Linked DNA regions of Homo sapiens: regions 1, 2, 3, 5, 6 and 7 are each linked to region 4. The links are contacts of gene promoters, found by promoter capture Hi-C in blood cells and fetal thymus (Javierre and others, 2016). All regions are on one chromosome and are shown on one strand. The core of a region is centred on a gene start or on the middle of the fragment in contact, and the rest is flanking DNA. Distances in the headings are between cores, read along the strand shown. Region 1 holds the start of DGUOK-AS1 (DGUOK antisense RNA 1). Region 2 overlaps DCTN1-AS1 (DCTN1 antisense RNA 1). Region 3 holds the start of SLC4A5 (solute carrier family 4 member 5). Region 4 holds the start of BOLA3 (bolA family member 3). Region 5 overlaps TET3 (tet methylcytosine dioxygenase 3). Region 6 overlaps SLC4A5 (solute carrier family 4 member 5). Region 7 overlaps DGUOK-AS1 (DGUOK antisense RNA 1).

Region 1 (2,708 bases), core at 55-2,554, 170 kb before region 4:
CTATTTGATTCAAAAAATTCAAAATGCAGTCACAAAACTAGTTATAAAACATGAGGACATTTGCGGGGCTATTGAAAAACGTAGTAGCCGGGCGCGGTGGCTCACTCATGTAATCCCAGCAGTTTGGGAGGTCGAGGTGGGTGGATCATGAGGTCAGGAGTTCAAGACCAGTCTCTACTAAAACTACAAAAATTAGCTGGGCGCGGTGGCAGGTGCCTGTAATCCCAGCTACTCGAGAGTCTGAGGCAGGAGAATCATTTGAACCTGGGCAGCAGAGGTTACAGTGAGCCCAGATCGCGCCACTGCACTTCAGCCTGGGTGACAAGAGTGAGACTCCATCTCAAAGAAAAAAAAAAAACCAAAACCCAAAACCAAAACAAAACAAAAAACCCAAAAACGCATAGCATAGATATCCTACACGTGTCACACTCACCAATGCAGGTCCACAAGCAACCCACTAATGAACCTCCCTTTCCCTGAGAGCAAAATGCCAGCTTCTGCCTGGTATCAGCTCTAGCATTCGTGGGCTAATTTCAGAGGTCCTGGATTGTAGGTCCTGGATTCTGACATGTAGTAGTGAATGACCTTGGACAAATTACCTCACTGAGCGCCAGTTCTCTTATCTGTAAAATGGTGATGATAATAAAAACTATGTCATAGATAAGGAAAGTTAACATTTGCACATTTGTTGTATTTGCCACTCTGTGCAGACAGAAGGATAATGTGTGTGGAAGTGCTTTGAAAAGGGAAAGATCTATGCAAATATTAGTTGATAATATTTTTAGCCAATACATGACCAAAGAAGTAATACATCCAAAATCAAATAAACCTCCCAATACCTTCAGTCTTTAAAACCAAGCCCAGGTATGGATATCGGGATGTATTTACATTTCTGCAAAAGGTCCCCATACGCAAATCTCATTCTTAAATAAGGACAAATTACTCATTAGCTGAAGAGGAGAGAGGTCAAGTACCTGAGGAGGTTAGTCACATCAATCACCTGAGAGTTCAGCAGCATCCAACAGTGTTAGTTCCACGTGTTAACTTCCTGAAGAACCACAGGCTTGCACATCCAATTATGCTTCCTGTCCCTTTCCTCCCCCGTGCGGAATCAACTTCAGCTCATCAATGGGGTAGGAAAGCCTCCTTATTTCGCACCCTCCATGCTCCAGGCATCCAGGGAAATGCCCCTGCCACCCCTATCTCCCTTGAGTTCTTAGGGCTTCCTCCTCTAGCAAGGAGATTTCCCTTTCTAGTCCCGGGGGCAGCGGCACAGCCCGGCTCTGACCTCGCGGGAGCAGTCGCCTAAAAGAGGCTCCGCCCTTGGCCGCTTGGGGTGGCGCCCGCCAAACCCGCTCCTAAAAGGAGCCTCTCTCCCTCTGTCTGCTCTAAGCGCCTTGGGGGCCTAATCGCAGTCTCCACCTGGGTGCTGAACTTCCTTCTCCCCCGCTTGCTGTAGTCCAGTGCTGCTCTAACTTGACTTCACCTGACGGACTAATTAAAACAGATTGCTGGGCCCGCCCCCAGGGTTTCTGATTCAGTGGGGTTAGGATGGGGCCGAGAGCTTGCATTTCTAGCCAGTTCCCAGGAGATGGTGATGCTGCTGGTGCCGGGGCTCTCTTGGCGGAACCACTGCGTCTAGGCTAATGCAGCCCCAGGAAGGGCTCGCCCTATCCCTACGCCCACCCCCGCTGCTCTCCTGCCCTGAGCGCAATGTGAATGGGAATAGCCGCAGCAGCCCAGGAGGCTGGAGAACCAGAAGGCAGGACCTGAGGAGTTTAGGCTGTTTTATCTTGGGCGCCCCTGACCAGTTTGTGCAAGTCGTAAAGAAAGCAGGAAAGAAGCCTATGGGTCTTCAGTGTTACTGGGGTCTGTCATTCATTAGGGTCTACTCACCTCGTCTCTTCATTCAACACAGTGGTTGGTTGCTAGGTCTAGGGTTATGAGGTGAAAGACAGCGTGCTACCCTTCCAGGAGTTTGTAGTAACTGGGAAAGAAACATGCAAACCATTCCAGTGCCCAGCGCCGATGAGATAACTGTTCCTAGGCAGGGAGAGTCAAACTTCTGTGGAGGGAGAGTGGGTGGGGCTCTGGAATCATCTGAGCAGCTGGAGGTTTCATGGAACTGGCACTTATGACTTGCAGGATGAGTGGGAATTTGGCAGGTACAAGGGGTAGCTGAGAAGGGGTGGGGTGGGAAGGGTTTTTCCCCAGGCAGAAGGAATGAGCAACAGGACTGCCGAAGTGTAAGGTTCCAGAGGCCGGGAAGATATGACAGGCAGCTCTCTAGCCTGGCTGGGTTCCCTCCAACCTCTCTGGCGGCGCCTTCTCAGCTCCTGTCCCTCATGGGCTGGTATTCCCTGGGGCTCTGTCCTGGCAGCCTTTCCCTCTCACACTCCATATCCACCCTGGATGAGCTCCTCCACAACTGAGGCCTCGCTGTCTGCTCACTGATGGGGCCCAAATCTCAAACCCAGGCCTCACCCCCTCAGTTGCACACTCACTTTCACACGAATGTCTCCATCCCCAGGCATCCTTCCTTCTGCATTTTGTCACAGTGAATGGCACCAGCATTCACCCAGTTACCTAAACGAGAGGGCTTTATGAAATGACCCTCTCATAGATTGCTGGCAAAGAGTAAATGACACAGTAACTTGCTGGTGCCATTTACCCAGACAGAATACAAGAGGATGGCTGCTGGGCTCCTC
Region 2 (2,700 bases), core at 115-2,614, 250 kb after region 4:
ATCAGGAATACGAAGATGCCGAATATCTCTGAGTCTGATCAACACTGTATTTGAACTAGTGCATCAAGGCAAGAAAAACGTATATAAAAGACATAAAGATTAGAAAGAAGGAAATTAAACTGTCATTTTTCACAGATGATATGATGACTTACATGGAAAAGGCCAAAATAGGCCGGGTGCAGTGGCTCACGCCTGTAATCCCAGCACTTTGGGAGGCCAAGGTGGGTGGATCACTTGAGGTCAGCAGTTCGAGACCAGTCTGGCCAACATGGTGAAACCCCATCACGACTAAAAATACAAAAATTAGCTGGGCATGCTAGCACGTACCTGTAATCCCAGTTACTTGGGAGGCTGAGGCAGGAGAATTGCTTGAACCTGGGAGGGAGGCAGAGGTTGCAGTAAGCCGAGATTGCACCACTGCACTCCAGCCTGGGCGAAGAAGCAAAACTCCATCTCAAAAAAAAAAAAAAAGCCAAAATAATCTGTAAATTATTAGGATTGATTAGAAAATATTTAGCAACGTGACTAGATATAAAATCAACATGCAAAACTCAATTGCATTTCTCTAACCAACAATGAAAAGTTAAATTATATAATTTTTGAAATGAAACTGATGCACCTAGTAATAAACAACAAAATATGTGCACAACCCGGCCAGGCTCAGTGGCTCATACCTGTAATCCCAGCACTTTGGGAGTCCGAGGCAGGCGGATCACAAGGTCAGGAGTTTGAGACCAGCCTGACCAACATGGTAAAACCCCGTCTCTACTAAAAATACAAAAATTAGCCAGGCATGGTGGCACGCGCCTGTAATCCCAGCTACTCAGGATGCCGAGGCAGGGGAATTGCTTGAACCCGGGAGGCAGAGGTTGCAGTGAGCCGAGATTGTGCCACTGCCCTCCAGCCTGAGTGACAGAACGAGACTCCGTCTTAAAAAAAAAGGTGGGGTGGTCAGGCAGGGTAGCTCACGCCTGTAATCCTAACACTTTGGGAGGCCGAGGCAGGCAGATCACTTGAGGTCAGGAGTTCGAGACCAGCCTGGCCAAAATGGTGAAACCCCGTCTCTACTAAAAATACAAAAATTAGCTGAGTGTGATGCCTGTAATCCCAGCTACTTGGGAGGCTGAGACAGAAGAATTGCTTGAACCCGGGAGGTGGAGGCTGCAGTGAGCCGAGATCGCACCACTGCACTCCAGCTTGGGTGACAGAGAGAGACTCCGTCTCAAAAAAATAAAAAAGACTGAGAGATGAGAGATGTGCACAACCCAAAATTACAAAATTATATTTGGAAACATACATTAAAGATAGCCTGTGGCTCACGCCTGTAATCCCAACACTTTGCAAGGCCAAGGCTGGTGGATCACTTGAGGTTAGGAGTTCGAGACCAACCTGGCCAACATGGCAAAACTCCATCTTTATTAAAAATACAAAAATTAGCCGGGTGTGCTGGCACCCGCCTGTAATCACCCAAGAGGCTGAAGCAGGAGAATCGCTTGAACCAGGAGACAGAGGTTACAGTGAGCAGGGATCGTGCCACTATACTCCAGCCTGGGCAAAGAAGCGAGAGTCCATCTGGAAAAAAAAAAAAAGGTAGCTTAAATGAATGAGAGATATAGCACACTTATGAATAGGAAAATTTAAAGTCATAAAGAAGTTAGTTGCCCTGTATTAATAATATGTATTTGAGATAACTCCAATCAATATTCTATCAGGATATTCTAGGAACTTGACAACAAATTAGTAATTTTGTAGAGAAAAGCAAAGGGCAAAAAATTAGCCAGGAAACTTCTGAAAAAAAGAAGACAGTTGACACGGTGAAACCCCATCTCTACTAAACATACAAAAATTAGCCGGGCATGGTGGCGCGCGCCTGTAGTCCCAGCTATTCAGGAGGCTGAGGCAGGAGAATGGTGTGAACCCAGGAGGTGGAGCTTGCAGTGAGCCGAGATTGCGCCACTGCACTCCAGCCTGGGTGACAGAGCAAGACTCCATCTCAAAAAAAAAAAGAGTGTGGCTGTGTGTGTGTGTGCTTATTTTAAAGTTTATTAAGTAAAGCAATATAGTATTGACGTAGGGATAGAAAGAGTCTAGATCTAAAAACAAACTAAAACATATACCTACAAAAACTTCGTTTTTTAAAATTATTATTATTGTTTTAGAGACAGGTTCTCACTCTGTGACCCAGGCTGGAATATAGTAGTGTGATCATAGCCGTAACCTCTAACTCCTGGGCTCAAGCAATCCTTCTGCCTCAGCCTCCTGAGTAGCTAGGATTGCAGGCAGTCATCACCACACCTGGCTAATTTTTTTATTTTTATTTTTGTAGATACGGGGTCTTGCCATGTTGCCTACGTTGGTCTTGAACTCTTGGCCTAAAGTGATTCCCGTACCTTGGCCTCCCCAAGCGCTGGAATTACAGGTGCAAGCCACCACACCAGGCCAAAAACTTAATATATGACAAAATTTGTATTATTGATCAGTGAGGGAAAGATATACCATTCAAAAAATGGTGCTGGGACAATTAGGTATTCAAATGCAAAAGCAAGCAAGAAAGGAAAGAATAAAAGAAGGAAAAAAGGGAGGGAAGGAGGGAGAGAGGAACAAATTAAGTGCTTCCATTTCTGGTGCTACCGTGGACTAAATATTACGGAAACTTCTGATATACTGCAACTAAAAATGCTGGATATAATATTTAACAAC
Region 3 (2,700 bases), core at 50-2,549, 190 kb after region 4:
GCACCAGAAGAGGCTCCACTCCAAGTCAAGATTGAAGTGGTATCTTTAGGTAGGACTGGAAATTATAATTATTAAAATGAGACTGAGACCAAGGGTGGCTGGAACAACCTTGTGACTTGCCTAAATTCCATTCAGGGGCAAAGCAAGAGCTAGTCCCACCGAATAAATGTAAAAGAGGCTGGGTGCAGTGGCTCACGCCTGTAATCTCAACACTTTGGGAGGCCGAGGTGGGTGGATCGCCTGAGGTCAGGAGTTCGAGACCAGCCTGGTCAACATGGTGAAACCCCATCTCTACTAAAAATACAAAAATTAGTTGGGCGTGGTGGTGGGTGCCTACAACCACAGCTACTCAGGAGGCTGAGGCAGGAGAATCGCTTGAACTCAGGAGGTGGAGGTTGCAGCGAGCCAATTATTGTGCCACTGCACTCCAGCCTAGCGACAGAGCGAGACTCCATCTCAAAAAAAAAAAAAAAAAAAGAGTAAATGTAAAAGAGCAGTAAGAGACAAAAATCAAGCTGCTTTCTGATTTTACCACATAAGTCATGTTTGTTCAATGGAACAGTGCACATTAGCTTTAATTGTTAATTAACACGCATCTGTTAAATAACCTTGTATCTGACTTTGGATTTTAAGCTTTCTGAGGGCAAGGACCATGTGCTGTTTAACCCCACACTGTTCCCACAGCCTGGCAAAGTGCCTCAAATTTACACAGGGGGCACTGAGATGGCTGCTGAGTGAATTGCTGACCAAGAGGGACTGCCCCACATCAGGCAGCCCATGCCATTACTGTGCTCACACTGTGCCCGACACAGAGCAAGGGATCATAAGTCCTGGGTGGCTTGAATTGACTCTTCCTAAAAAAAGAGTCTGTGATCTAGGAAGTCCAATATAAAAAGATGTTGCGGATTGCCCAGACTTAGAGTAAGAGGGGCAGAAATGAAGTAGGCATGGATGGTAATTTTGTTTTTCCATCAGGGCTGCTCTTACTCTGGAGTAAGGAGAGGAAGGCTAAGACACAAAAGGGGGACTCCGCCCAACCCAGCTTATGTCCTGTGATACCAGAAGGGAGCATTGCAATGACCTATTAAACCTCAAACCAAGCTGAATCCATTTCTGAGTAAGAGACTCTTACAGGGCTCCTGTCCTCAAAACTATATAAAATTGCTCAAATTATGTACTTCTGAGATAATAAATTAGCAGAAGAAGCACATAGCCCACCTCTTAAGATAGGGAAGTAGATCTGAAGTAGCTCAAGAAACAAAGTTTTCTACAGATGAAGGATGAGGGAAGGAAACCCAAGACCAGTTGATTCTGGTTTGGGAAATGATAACACTGGAGAACACACTCTACTATCTGTTTCTTGTGACATCCTTTGTGCTAAAGTTATCTCCTTTGTTGGCATGGCCACCATCCCTACTTCTAGTGCAGTGGAGATGTATGAGTGTCTCCATTGCTAAGTGTTTAGTTACTCAAGATAAACTTGACTGGAGAGGGTGTGGGCAGGCATTCAGTCAAGCAACAAGCCACTCACTGAGTGCCACCAATGGTGTGGGAAAAGATGACTCTCCTTAGACTGGTCCATCCAAAATAAAGGAGGTGGGGAGAGCATACCTGGGTGGTCTTCAGGGTACTCCTGGAAACATCCATCAGCTCATGAGCTCACAGCTGAATTCCAAATCCTGGGATGCCTGCTTGGAGGGAGGGTAAAACACCATTTCTCAGGGACAGAAGCCCACAAAGCTAAGGGCACTGGGTTTCTAAGTCAGGATTTCATCACGGCTGGATGACCCTTTTTTAAGGAAAGCCAGCTGATCTCCAGGACTCCTGATACATAAGAGCTATGCAGTCTGTCACTTCTAGGGAGAGAGATGGGGACTAGCTCTGGTTCCTCATGCGTTCCTTCCCTCTCACTCCCTAAAGACCTCAAGAAACAGATCCTTGGTAACAATGCCTTCTTTGGGCCAGAAAGCTTAGTTGAAGTGTGGATTCTTATACAAGTCTCATGTTTTCTGGACTCCTAGGAGACTCAGAGGAGACACCATAGGTAACCCTTATTGAACTGGAAGAAGTGTGAAGTACTATCAACCACTGAGACTCCCATGGCTCAAGAATATGCACAGAGGTCTAACTAGATATAGGTCTCAGCCCCTGACTTTAGAAGTCTGACATTCCACAGATATGCACACACTACACGCTCCCCTCACAGAGGAAACTGGAGTAGGGGGACACAGCAGAACAAAATCGCAACACTACTACAGGAAAACCTCGTCATTCCGTTACTTGTCCTTTGCTATGTTGGAATACTTATAGATTAGTTTCAACAATCAGGTTACTCCTTATCTTTGCTCTAAGTCTTGTACAGGCCTTTAGCAAAAAGCAATAAAATTCTCATCTGACTCTTGGTGGGCTGGGGAATCTGCCTATTCTATTCAGTTGGTTCACTCACATCTCCAAACCAGAACCTACAACCACTCTGTAACTTTATTTATGTAAAATCCACTCTACTTACCCCAGTGCAGTGGCCTGTGGCTCCTGGGCCCTGACTCCAATTCCTTTAGGGTGGACCTTGCAGTTGGAACCATCCACCTCTCGTTTTTTCTATCTCTGCTATTAACATAGCCCCTCCTCTATTGCCTCACCAACTATTTTCAAACCAAAAAGTCTTTGTCTATTCATAGCCACTGTAAAAGTAACATTCAT
Region 4 (2,700 bases), core at 79-2,578:
CACCGGGCACTGGTCCCTGACTAGACGTGGATGACAGGTTGGAGGACACTAGGGCCGTTCATGGGTGCTGGTGCTGAAGGTCCCACCCCTCTACCCCTCAGTCCTTCCTGATAGCTCAGAGCAGGGTCCTGTGTCACAGAATCTCAGAGCACCTCCTTTAAAATGAGCTGTGCACTGGCTCTCTCACCACTGGTCTTATAGGCCAGGAATGAGTCCGGCAGCATCCCAGAGCTGACCCCAGGGCAGGCCCTCAGAGGCACTTGGTGCTGGATGAATGAATGAGCAGGGGAAGAACTAGTCAATTAGGGACAGAAATGCAAGACAGGAGAAAGGTCCAGAGTGTGATTGTCTGCCTGCTGTGTGGAGGGACAGAAACTCGATGTTGAGAGGCTGGACAGGATTGCCAGGAGTGAGGGTGGGGTGGAGCTGCTTCTGGGGGCAGAATCTTGAGGGTAAAGGCAGAGAGTAACCAGATGGCAGACAGAATCGGCAGCTACTAAGGGGTGAGAGAGGTGAGCGTTGCAGAATCCTTGGGAGAAGCCTTTCATCTTAGCGGATCTGTGGGCAGCGGCCTTTAGTGGAACAATCAACTGACATCCCCAGATGATCACTGTCCACGCTGAAAGTCACCGCAGTGGAAGAACTTCTCTTCATGCACAGGGCAGGCAGGTTCAGAACCAGGGGAGAAGGAAAATGAAAGTTAAGAGAAAGAATGGTATGAGCTGAAGCAAAGGATGGTTCAGAAAGGGGGAGAGATTAGGAGAGCGCGTGGGAAGTGCCCCCTGCTTGGGTTCTGCTCCGGTAGTGTGGGATTTGGAGGAGGATCAAGGTCAGAGGCCCAGTCGACCTTCCCAAGGCCCCGGCCCCGCTGCAGTCCCTCGCACCCACGCCTTGACTCTGGGCTATGACTCCTGTCTTCTGCTCGGTAAACCAATCCTTTTTTTTTCCTGTGCCCGCAGTATTATGACTGTTCATGTGTCTGTCCGCCTGACCTCCAACCTCCACCCAGCTCGGGAGCTCCCCTAGAGCGCGCCAGAGCTTGAAATTTCGAATGCCGTTGTCGCTGAGTGAATGAATGAATGAAAGAATGAATGAGAGAAAGGAAGAGGAGCCCCCCATTGCCAGTGCCGCGCGCGCCCTCCGGGAGCCAGTCCTCAAGCCCCGACAGCCGCCGGCCCCGCGGTCCCTCCGCAGCTCCCGTCCCGGGGAGAGCAGCCCCGACCCTGCCCACGCTCACCCCGCGGATCCCGCGGAGGAGAGGCGCTGCCGCGGCCGGGCTCCATGCAGCCATGCCCGGCCGACGTGACCCGCCGCCCGAGGTCACTGTATGCCCGAAAGACGCGGAGCGGGGGACCGAGAGCCGCCGCCGTGGGAGAGGCCGCCCCCTGCCGCCCGGAGGCCGTCAGCCTCCCGGCCCCGCCCCGGAGGCCTCCGGTCGCCTGGCTCCGGCCCCACCCCGCCATCCCCTGGCCCTGGCTGACTCGCCACCCCCGACACTGCAGCGCCTGCCGACCTCGGGGCCCCGCCCTCTGCCTTCGCTCGCGCCGCTCTCCTTCAGTCTCCCCAGGGCCTGTTTCATGGATAGGGTCCCCTTGCCCGCGTGAAAGTCTCATTCCTCCTCAGCTCAGAAACACTCCAAGGTCTCGGCGCCCTATACTGGCCTTCCCTCATCCGAATACCCCTCGTGCTCCTGATGTACTTTTCCATTCCCACTCCCTACTCTGGCAGTCTAGCTTCTAAGCTGAGGAGTTTGGCCTTCGCTCCAGGTGCGGGGACTCGTGGAAGGATTTGATTCGCGCTTGAGAAAGATCGCTCCGCTCCTGTAAGGAAGAGAGCGTGTAGGGGCTGCAACCAGAGACACAGTCAGAAGCTCCGAGGCTACCGCGATGGTCCAGGTGAGAATGGAGGGGCCTAACTAAACCAGTGGCGGGAGGGATGGAAGAATGAACTGAGACACTTGGGAGGTGAATGGAATCGAGCGACTGCATGTGGAGGTGTGAGTGGGAAGGTATCTGAGATGACTCCAGTTTCTGGCTTGGACAATGACTTGGATGGAGGGTTAGGTGGGGGCTGAGCAGAGTCCACGAACAGTTCTTAATTTGCCTGAGTTTAAGGTGCCACAGGACACAGCCTAACAGAGGCCCAGGTTGGAGCCATGGACCATGGAGTCATGAGAATGGAAGGGAAGCTGACGCCATGTGGGATGGGGTAGAACTGTCCGCAAATTCGTCCCGCCTCTGGAGTCTTCAGACCAGTCAAGGCCGAAATTCAACCAAGCCTCTCCTCTCTCTAGCTGTTATTTGTTTGCAGCACGCGGTCTGGTGGCACCCTGCAGGATTTACCAGCTTTTTGCCAACATTCTGGCCTATGCAATCAATACGTCCCTTCAGCGTTGCACTTGGATGGATTGGACCTATAGTTGTTATATATGGATATTGTCTAATTTATTTATTACAGTATTAACTGACTCCTATGTTCTGGCCTTCAGAATTTCTCCTTTGGATCAATTACTAGCCTGTCTTACATTTTCTGCTTCATTCTTTTAAAATGTTTAGAGATGATTTGCTAAGTTTTCTTCATTGCTGTCAATGATGCAATTTAAACTGTCAAAAAAATTTTTTCTCAAGCAGGGTAGTAATGGTGAACCATTCCCTTGCTATTCAGACAGCATGGTTTAGATGAGGCGCACCTATCCCCAGC
Region 5 (2,828 bases), core at 296-2,795, 130 kb before region 4:
AGTAGCTGGGATTACAGGCATGTGCCACCGTGCCCGACTAATTTTGTATTTTTAGTAGAGACGGGGCTTCTCCATGTTTGTCAGGCTGTTTTCGAACTCGCGCCCTCAAGTGATCGGCCTGCCTTGGCCTCCCAGAGTGCTGGGATTACAGGTGTGAGCCACCGTGCCTGGCCTTCTTCTGTCATCTTAAGTGAGAAAACATAGTATAGCTTTCATCGTTATGAGGGTTTTGATACTAACTTCTGTTACGTTTTGAAAAAAATTTTGGCCTGTTTGTCTTTCATTGTGTCTATCATAAAAATTTGATTTTTATACAACGAGAATTCATCAGTATTTTGGCTTTTCTTACTTAAGTTTTATTTTAGATGTTCAGATTTCTAAGGTGAGATTTATTTTTGCATGCGATATAAGATAGGGATTGAACTTTTCCTAAATAGAAAGCCTGTTATCCCCAATCTATTTATTGGGTATTTGTAGTTTCCCTTGTAGTGTATGAATTCTACCTTAAGCATTTCATAAGTACTCTTACAGTCATGGGTGTTTTAAGGCCTCTTTTTACTTCCATTGACTTATTTGTCTGATTCTGTGTATTTCATTGTTTTAATTACCACCATTTTTATATAATACTTTGGTTTAAAACATACTTCTTACTTTTTTTTTTTTTTTTGGCATTTCTTTCTCCAAATAAGCTTATAAACAACTTACCATGTTCTGCGAAAAATACTGGGATTTTTCAGTTGGAATCACATGAAACGTACAGGTTATTTTGGGGAGAATAGATAGCTTTACAATGAATCTTCCTATCCAGAGAAAGGGAAGTAGACCTTTCCGTTTATTCTAGTCTTTTTTGTGTGTTCATCAAAGTTTTAAGGCCAGGTGTGGTGGCTCATGCCCCATAATGCCAGTGCTTTGGGAGGCTGAGGCGGGAAGACTGCCTGAAGCCAGGAGTTTGAGATCAGCCAGGGTAACATAGTGAGACCCCCCGCCAACCCTCATCTCTACAAAAAATAAAAACTAGCTGGGTGTGGTGGCGCATGCCTGTAGTCCCAGCTACTTGGGAGGCAGATGTGGGAGGATCGCTGTAGCCCAGGAGTTGGAGGCTGCGGTGAGCTATGATCTGGCCACTGCACTCCAGTCTGGGCGACAGAAGGAGACTCTGTCTCTAATAAAAACCAAACAAACAAAATAAATGAAACGTTTTAAGGTTTTCTTCTTACACATTTCTTGTGAAGTTTCTTCCTAGATATGCTGTAGCTGCTGTTGTTGCTGTTGGGAATGGGATCTTTTCTGTTATACTTTGTATCCCATCTTTGCCCGCATATTAGAAATGCAGCTGCTCTGTGCTGCCTCTTCTGACACTTCTGTCCCTTTCTCCCTCAAGTCCTCATGGTATATTGTCTGTACCTCCGTGGCAATACTGTGTGCCTGAGTGTGAGTTCCCAGTGGTGGGGTGCTCATCTCACTCCATTTCATGTCACCAGTACCTGGCACAAAGCCTAGCATGCGGTAAATCCTTTTAATAAACGCCGTGGCATCAGATTGATGAGAGGGACAGTGAGCTTCACCTCTTCAAAGTGTGACAGCCTGGGCCAATGTGAGCAGCAGAATCTCAAGCAGCCCTGGCTCCAGGCCCTGCAGGCTGTGATCTGGATAACAGATTGGGCACCCTCCTTGTCCCCGCAGGAAAAAGGAGGTCCTGGGCCATTTTTCCACGTGCAGACATCAGGGAGGAGCCCTCTGAGCCTCTATCTCATTATTATCCTGAGACCCACAGCCCCCTTGTTGTTAGCCCTCATTAGTGCTAACTAGTTGGGAGAACTGCTTTCTTAGCTTCCAATCATTTCAAGGTAGCACAAACAAACTTATCTGCAGCTTCCCTTAGGGGATGAGGACTCATCAAGGCTGGAAGCAGAGCTTGTACAGAACATTGTGAGATGGGTTCACACCTATGTGCCCAGTCACCTTCTCTCATATGGTAGTGCCTTTCTTTTTTCTTCTACTATTCTCCTCCAGAGTATATGCATCCCCCCAACCCAGTATGTCCTACGTGAAGTTTATTCCTATCCGTGTGCTAATCTTTACCATAGCGTTTGCATTTGTTTTTCCCTTGAGACAGAGTCTCACTCTGTCACCAAACCTGGAATGCAGTGGCATGATCTTAGCTTACTGCAATCTCTGCCTCTGGGTTCAAGTGATCCTCCCACCTCAGCCTCCCTAGTAGTTGGGACTACAGGTGCATACCACCACACCCAGCTATTCTTTGTATTTTTTTAGAGATGGGGTTTCACCATATTGCCCAGGCTGGTCTTGATTTCTGGGGCATAAGTGGTCTGCCTGCCCAAAGTGTTGGGATTACAGGCATGAGCCACAGTGCCCAGGCTTGGTGTTTGCATTTTATATGTAAGCTTTTGTTTGTAATTGGGGAATGGCAGGCACTATTCCTTGATGGAGCTGTCTGGGGCATGCCAATTCACTCTGTACCCTTGGCAGTGGTTCCAGACTCTCAGGTCCCTGCCCCCACTGGTCTCTGCTGCCCCTGGAGCAAGGATGGTGATGTCTACCTGCCTTGGAGGGACCCAGGAACAAGGGAACTCCCACCTCTTGTTCAAGGGCTTGAGGGCTATGCCCTTGGAGAGAAGGGAATCCCTGCTGTTGTTAAGCAGGGGTCAGGATTTCTGCCTCTCAACATGCATAAAAAGAAGGTGGGAGTGAGGACGTGAGCTGATTTCTAATCCCTCTCTAGCAGTTGTGCATCTGGTTCAGCGTGTCCCGGGGTTTCCCTGGGTTTTGCTTGACCGCAGCAGTAAGCTGTTCCTCATTTATCCCGT
Region 6 (2,700 bases), core at 58-2,557, 170 kb after region 4:
TTGGTTTCTGGCTACTCTCCAGAGACAGCTCTCAAGACCAAATTAGAGGAAATCACAACAGAGACAAGAAAAGACATTGTATTCATGACGACAAGAAAAGCAGAATGCTATAAACCTATGAACCTATAAGTTTTTAAAGAATAAGACAGAACTTTTCGAAATTAAAAATACCTTAGAAGAAAATTTTCAATAAAAGACTTGGAACATAAATTTGAAGGAGTATATCAGATAATAGAACACAAATAAAAAGAGATTAAACAAATACTATGACAAAACAAGAAAACCAGAGGATCAATCCAGGAGGCCCAAACATCAAAATAATAGGAGTTCCCAAAAGAGAGATAAAAAAATAGTGGAGAGAAAATTACCAATGAAATAACATGAGAATACCTTCCAGAACTGAAAGATCTGGAAGAATTTTCTGATTGAAAGAACTTTCGATCAGCTCAGAAAAAATTAATTTTTAAAAAATCCACTCCAAGTCACATCATTATGAAGCATTAGGACTTCATGGATAAAGAAATCTTAAAAGCTTCCAGAAAAAAATAAGTCATCTACCAAGAATCTGAAACAAGAATTGATATCAGATTTCTCAATCACTACAGTGGAAGCTACAAGACAATGAAGTCATGCTTCCAAAAGTGAGACAAAATTATTTCCAACCTAGAATTCCAGTCCCAATCAAGCTATCAATCAAGTGGGAGGGTAGAATAGGGGCATTTTCAGACATAAACTATCTCAAAAATTTACCTTCGATGCACCTTTTTTTCAGGAAGTGACTGAAGGAGGAACTCTAGCAAGATGAAGGACTTGCACTAAGAAAGAAATTAAGTCTGGGAAACGGGATTCACCACAAAAGATAGGCAAAGGAAAGTCACCGGAGAAGAACCCTGCAGCAGTCCAGAGAGCAACAGGCACATCTTAGAGCAGGCTCTGGACAGGATGTCTTCAGGAAAAAAACCTGGATCTGAAAAATGGTCTTGATGTGTTTGACTGTTGCAAGAGGATACAAAAACTTTGTCAAGAATAGTCATAGAAAGGAAAAGTAATCATGGTACACTATACTCAACTGTGAGCAATATTTACACAGTCATAATAAATCAAGTGAGTGTTAATTTTCCTGAAAACAGCAATAGAAACAGGGTTGATATTCCACCGATACGCATTGGTATGGCTGCTATTTATGATTGGTGTCCATTTTTAGTGATCAGGTATTCATTTGGGTTGGTCAATGTCAGTGCCATGTTGGTTGTTAAATATTTTGAATATCACCACTGGATGTAACTATTTGGGGAGTATAAAACACCTGTGGAGGATGCTGCTAGTTACTTCCCTGATGCCCATTCCCCTTTCTGCTCTGACTTTCTGACTTCTGCTCCAGCCACAGTAGCACTATGGCCAACTAAAAAGAAACACTTCCCTCAGACACCCTTCAGCTCTCTCTGGCTGAAGAGCTACAGGAGAAAGAACCTGAGGAAGGAGTCCCTTCCTAGATAAAGCATTTTCAGAAGAAAGCCTCTTCACTTTTCCTTCTTCTTCCTTCCTGGATAGAGTTGCCAGGTTTAGCAAATGAAACTACAGTTTGCCCAGTTAAATTTGAATTTCAGATAACAACAAATAACTTTGAGTATATGTTCAGCACAATATTTGGGATATACTTCTACTAAAAATTATGTGTTGACAAAGGTGACCCAGATGTGGTTACTGAAAACCACACCTGGGTCATCTGACAAAGGACTCTGGGAAAGTAAGTTTTTACTGGGAAAATAATATTGAGTCTGTCAGTAAGGGAAAAAGGGAGAATGCGCATTGGGTAGTCATCTAGCATGTCTCCTACACTGTCCAACAACCATTCCCTCTTCTGCTTGCCTATTTACAAAACTTTATTTTGTTCAGGTAGAGACACAGGGCCCTTGATTGCCAGTAGTCACCTTCCCTAGGCTCAGGCATGAGCTGGGATCTATATAAACCATTCACGGTATTCTGGTTGCCCTTAGCCAGTCACTGAGTTTAGGAATAGTCATGTGACCCTATTCTAGCCAATGAGATTTAGGTGGAAGTCCATTGGGTAAGACTTTCAGGAAAGCTTTTATTTTCCTAATTGAAAGTGACACAGTTGGAATGCACAGTTTGTCCTTTACCCTCCTGCTTTCTTGCACGGACCTTGAGACTTTGAGATAAAGCAGCCATCTTGCAACAATGAGGTGACAGGTATGAAGACCAAAGGCACAGGCTAAGAACAAGGCAGAAGGATAAGACAAATCTGGGTTCCTGAGAATATCACTGAGCTCTGGACTGCTTATTGCTGGATTTCCTGTTATCTGAAAAAAAAAAAAAATCTCTATATTTAAACTGCTAGCCAAGTTTTATGTTACTTTTAGCTGAGGCCTTCCTAACTGACACATAATGGATGACTATGGACAGTTGAAATTAATGAACTAGATTTTTATGTATTAACATGTATAAATCTCAAAAACATAATGAGAACAAAAGGAAGTTGTAAAAGAAAATGATATTATTTACATAAAACTTTAAAACAAACAAAACACTACCAATATTGATTATAGTTACATTTATAAGTAATAAAATCATAAAATTATGTAGAGGAATGATACACACCAACTTCAGGTTACTTCTGGGGAAGGATAAGGTTAATGATGCTTGATGATCTTTGGTATTTTGGATAGATGATAGATATAC
Region 7 (2,700 bases), core at 151-2,650, 180 kb before region 4:
TGTAATGTCCTCCCAGCCTGTTGAGTCGCAGGGCAGCTTTTTACCTTCTTAGCATGAGCCAACTTCGACTTTCTCGCCAACTTCGACTTTCTCGCCAACTTCGACTTTCTCACCCACTTCGGTTATCTACTCAGAACCAATCTGGTTTCACCTACAGCCTACCCCCACTCTCATTATTCTGAAGCAAATCCCAAACAGGAGGATGTCTTTTAAAGCTAGAGCTATATCAAACTATGGATTTCACAACCCGGATCCCTTATGCTCAATGGGTACAAAACAGTTCTCCCCACCCGCATACCCACCACCAACCCTACCCCAACCCAGCCAGCAAAGCCATTTCCCCTGCTTCTCCATTCACCCCGTTGGCCACATTAAAAACCTTGGTGTTATCTTTGACCCCCCACTTACACTCATTCTCAACAAATTCTGCCTATTCATCTCTGAAATCTTTCAAATCTTCTCTGCACCTGTTTCTGTCTCTCTAGTTGAAGGTGTAGTGGAAATTGTGGTTGACTCCCCAGCATTCATCCCACCTCTCCTCCTCTTCCATAGCAGTCATATGGTCCCCATTGTAGCAGTGGCCATGCCTAGGAATGGCAGGAATGGCCCCTCCCCTGCCCCCCAATTACTACTACCAGTAATCATTTCTTCCCCAAGCCACATCAACTAAATGATGTATAAAAAAGAACAGTGGTTGCTAGGTCAGGTCACCTGCCCCACCCCTGCCACCAGAGAGCTGCCCCTCAGCCTCTCCTATGTGGAGGTATGAGAGCTACCATGTTTTTATAACCCTATCTCCCATCACTCCTACCATAAACCCCACGAGACCACCCATAGCTTCAGATGTGTTTTCCCACATGACAAAATGTTTCTCTCTCTCTCTTTCTCTCCCACCCCCCACCCACCACCCCAAGCTTTTACACTGGAAGAACTACTCACCCTGCCAGGCCCAAGCCCACCATTCCTCTCTCTGTGGAGCCCTTCCCTCACCCCACACCATGTCCAGTCTTTGTGCCCTTGAGCACCCTGTTTATTAAACTTCTGTCAAACGTGTCATACCTGAATGAAAGTTGTCTGGAGACATCTCTTTGATGTCCTTGGCCTTGACCTTCTTGACATAGACCATGTCTTGGTCATTTAGTACAATGCCTGGCATTTATTTATTTATTGCTGTTTCATGAGTGCCTAACATAGACTTTTAAATAAAGAAATTATTGACTGGAGACACGCTCCGCCCTTTCTCAGGTTCCTGGGTTATTTGTGAGCTCTATATTACGATCATCAATTGAGGAAGTCCCTTCTGTGTACTAAGCACTGAGAATATGCAAGAAATTTGGGGCCTGGACTCTACTCTTAAATTGTCAAAGGAGTTGATGATTATCAGATGCCTACTGTGTGCCAGCTACCCTACTGAACACTTTCTAAATGTTATTCAACCCTCTCAATAATCCTGTGAAGGAGGTTTAAGGTGCCAGTTTTTACCAGTGAGGAAACTGAAGCTCAGAGTTCAGTAACTCAACGAGAGTCCCACAGTAACTGACAGCGCTGGGACTCACACCTAGGTCCATCCTGACTCCAGAGCCTGTTCTCTGCATAACACCAAACCATTACATAAGGGAGATAAGACTAGATTTTCAGAAAAGAAGGCAAGCAAGCATTTCCTTGGCTGCCTGTCTGGATTTACCAGCCAAATTTTGTAGCCTGGGCAGGAAAACCTAGTTTGCCAGCACTGCTAGGTGGAGGCCACCAGGTGCATCTTAGCTGTGCCTTTGGCCCCTGGGTCCCTGAACAGGTGGAGAGATGTTTCTGGGGGGCTAGATTTTCTCTTCTCAGCAACTGCACCTTCATAAAGTGCCCTTCAGGCACTAGCCATTAGAATGTATGTGGAAGCTTGGTGAAGGTTCTGGAGTGTCTTTACAGATGCCTTCTACTCCACTTCCCAGCTCACCCTTTATGTTGCTATCAGATGATTTTCTTAAAACACCTTTATTTTTTTTAAATTTATTTTTATTTTTATTTTTTGAGACAGCGTTGCTCTGTCGCCCAGGCCAGAGTGCAGTGGCATGATCTCAGCTCGCTGCAACCTCCGCCCCCTGGGTTCAAGTGATTCTCCTGCCTCAGCCTCCCACGTAGCTGGGACTGCAGGTGCACACTACCATGCCTGGCTAATTTTTTTTTTTTTTTTTTTTTTGGTATTTTTAGTAAACACCACCATGTTGGCTAGGCTGGTCTCAAATTCCTGACCTCAAGTGATCCACGCACTTCAGCCTCCCAAAGTGCTGGGACTGCAGGTGTGAGCCACCACACCCAGCCTAAAAACCTTTAATCATGTTAATATTCTTCTTTAAAAATGTTGGTGGCCGGGCGTGGTGGCTCACACCTGTAATCCCAGCACTTTGGGGGGCTGAGGTGGGCAGATCATGAGATCTGGAGTTCGAGACCAGTCTGCATAGAGAAACCCCATCTCTACTAAAAATACAAAATTAGCTGGGTGTGGTGGCGCATGCCTGTAATCCCAGCTGCTTGGGAGGCTGAGGCAGGAGAATCATTTGAACTCAGGAGGCGGAGGTTGTGGTGAGCAAAGATGGTGCCATTGCACTCCAGCCTGGGCAACAAAAGCGAAACTCCAACTCAAAAAAAAAAAAAAAAAGTTGGTATCCAAATGCACAGTGGTATCCTGAATTGGATCCTGGAACAGAT

Evidence for each region. Contacts are between HindIII fragments. The CHiCAGO score rates a contact against its expected background, and 5 or more counts as called.
Region 1: a contact is called between the fragment with the promoter of DGUOK-AS1 here and the fragment with the promoter of BOLA3 in region 4, in 16 of 17 cell types (activated CD4 T cells, naive CD8 T cells, erythroblasts and 13 more). The highest score is 16.2, in activated CD4 T cells.
Region 2: a contact is called between a fragment that was not itself captured here and the fragment with the promoter of BOLA3 in region 4, in 2 of 17 cell types (naive CD8 T cells and naive B cells). The highest score is 6.0, in naive CD8 T cells.
Region 3: a fragment that was not itself captured here is called in contact with the fragment with the promoter of BOLA3 in region 4 in 1 of 17 cell types (activated CD4 T cells); the score reaches 5.6 in activated CD4 T cells.
Region 5: a contact is called between a fragment that was not itself captured here and the fragment with the promoter of BOLA3 in region 4, in 4 of 17 cell types (activated CD4 T cells, erythroblasts, naive CD8 T cells and 1 more). The highest score is 7.5, in activated CD4 T cells.
Region 6: a fragment that was not itself captured here is called in contact with the fragment with the promoter of BOLA3 in region 4 in 4 of 17 cell types (naive B cells, M1 macrophages, total B cells and 1 more); the score reaches 5.7 in naive B cells.
Region 7: a contact is called between a fragment that was not itself captured here and the fragment with the promoter of BOLA3 in region 4, in 7 of 17 cell types (activated CD4 T cells, erythroblasts, naive CD4 T cells and 4 more). The highest score is 9.3, in activated CD4 T cells.

What each region holds. Positions count from the first base shown.
Region 1 is chr2:73,980,135-73,982,842 of GRCh38, forward strand. It overlaps DGUOK-AS1 (DGUOK antisense RNA 1), which reads right to left and starts at 1,305. Exons shown (of 2, transcript NR_104030.1): 1 at 1,001-1,305. The HindIII fragment of the contact is 8,489 bases long and covers 1-2,708 here.
Region 2 is chr2:74,397,130-74,399,829 of GRCh38, forward strand. DCTN1-AS1 (DCTN1 antisense RNA 1) reads left to right here. Exons shown (of 3, transcript NR_158174.1): 3 at 1-1,539. Among named protein-coding and RNA genes, the nearest start is that of DCTN1-AS1, 13 kb to the left of the region's middle. The HindIII fragment of the contact is 2,857 bases long and covers 1-2,700 here.
Region 3 is chr2:74,340,847-74,343,546 of GRCh38, forward strand. It overlaps SLC4A5 (solute carrier family 4 member 5), which reads right to left and starts at 2,570. Exons shown (of 31, transcript NM_133478.3): 1 at 2,510-2,570; 2 at 1,612-1,688. The HindIII fragment of the contact is 1,336 bases long and covers 632-1,967 here.
Region 4 is chr2:74,146,584-74,149,283 of GRCh38, forward strand. BOLA3 (bolA family member 3) reads right to left here and starts at 1,329. Exons shown (of 4, transcript NM_212552.3): 1 at 1,238-1,329. The coding sequence starts at 1,291. It overlaps BOLA3-DT (BOLA3 divergent transcript), which reads left to right and starts at 1,398. Exons shown (of 3, transcript NR_045636.1): 1 at 1,398-1,640; 2 at 1,767-1,895; 3 at 2,115-2,700. RefSeq lists a silencer at 1,070-1,549 and an enhancer at 1,083-1,742. The HindIII fragment of the contact is 11,442 bases long and covers 1-2,700 here.
Region 5 is chr2:74,018,094-74,020,921 of GRCh38, forward strand. All of the region lies in intron 3 of TET3 (tet methylcytosine dioxygenase 3), which reads left to right. Among named protein-coding and RNA genes, the nearest start is that of TET3, 35 kb to the left of the region's middle. The HindIII fragment of the contact is 1,716 bases long and covers 688-2,403 here.
Region 6 is chr2:74,319,865-74,322,564 of GRCh38, forward strand. The region is part of intron 5 of SLC4A5 (solute carrier family 4 member 5); the gene reads right to left. Among named protein-coding and RNA genes, the nearest start is that of SLC4A5, 22 kb to the right of the region's middle. The HindIII fragment of the contact is 1,554 bases long and covers 531-2,084 here.
Region 7 is chr2:73,963,972-73,966,671 of GRCh38, forward strand. All of the region lies in intron 1 of DGUOK-AS1 (DGUOK antisense RNA 1), which reads right to left. Among named protein-coding and RNA genes, the nearest start is that of DGUOK-AS1, 16 kb to the right of the region's middle. The HindIII fragment of the contact is 976 bases long and covers 913-1,888 here.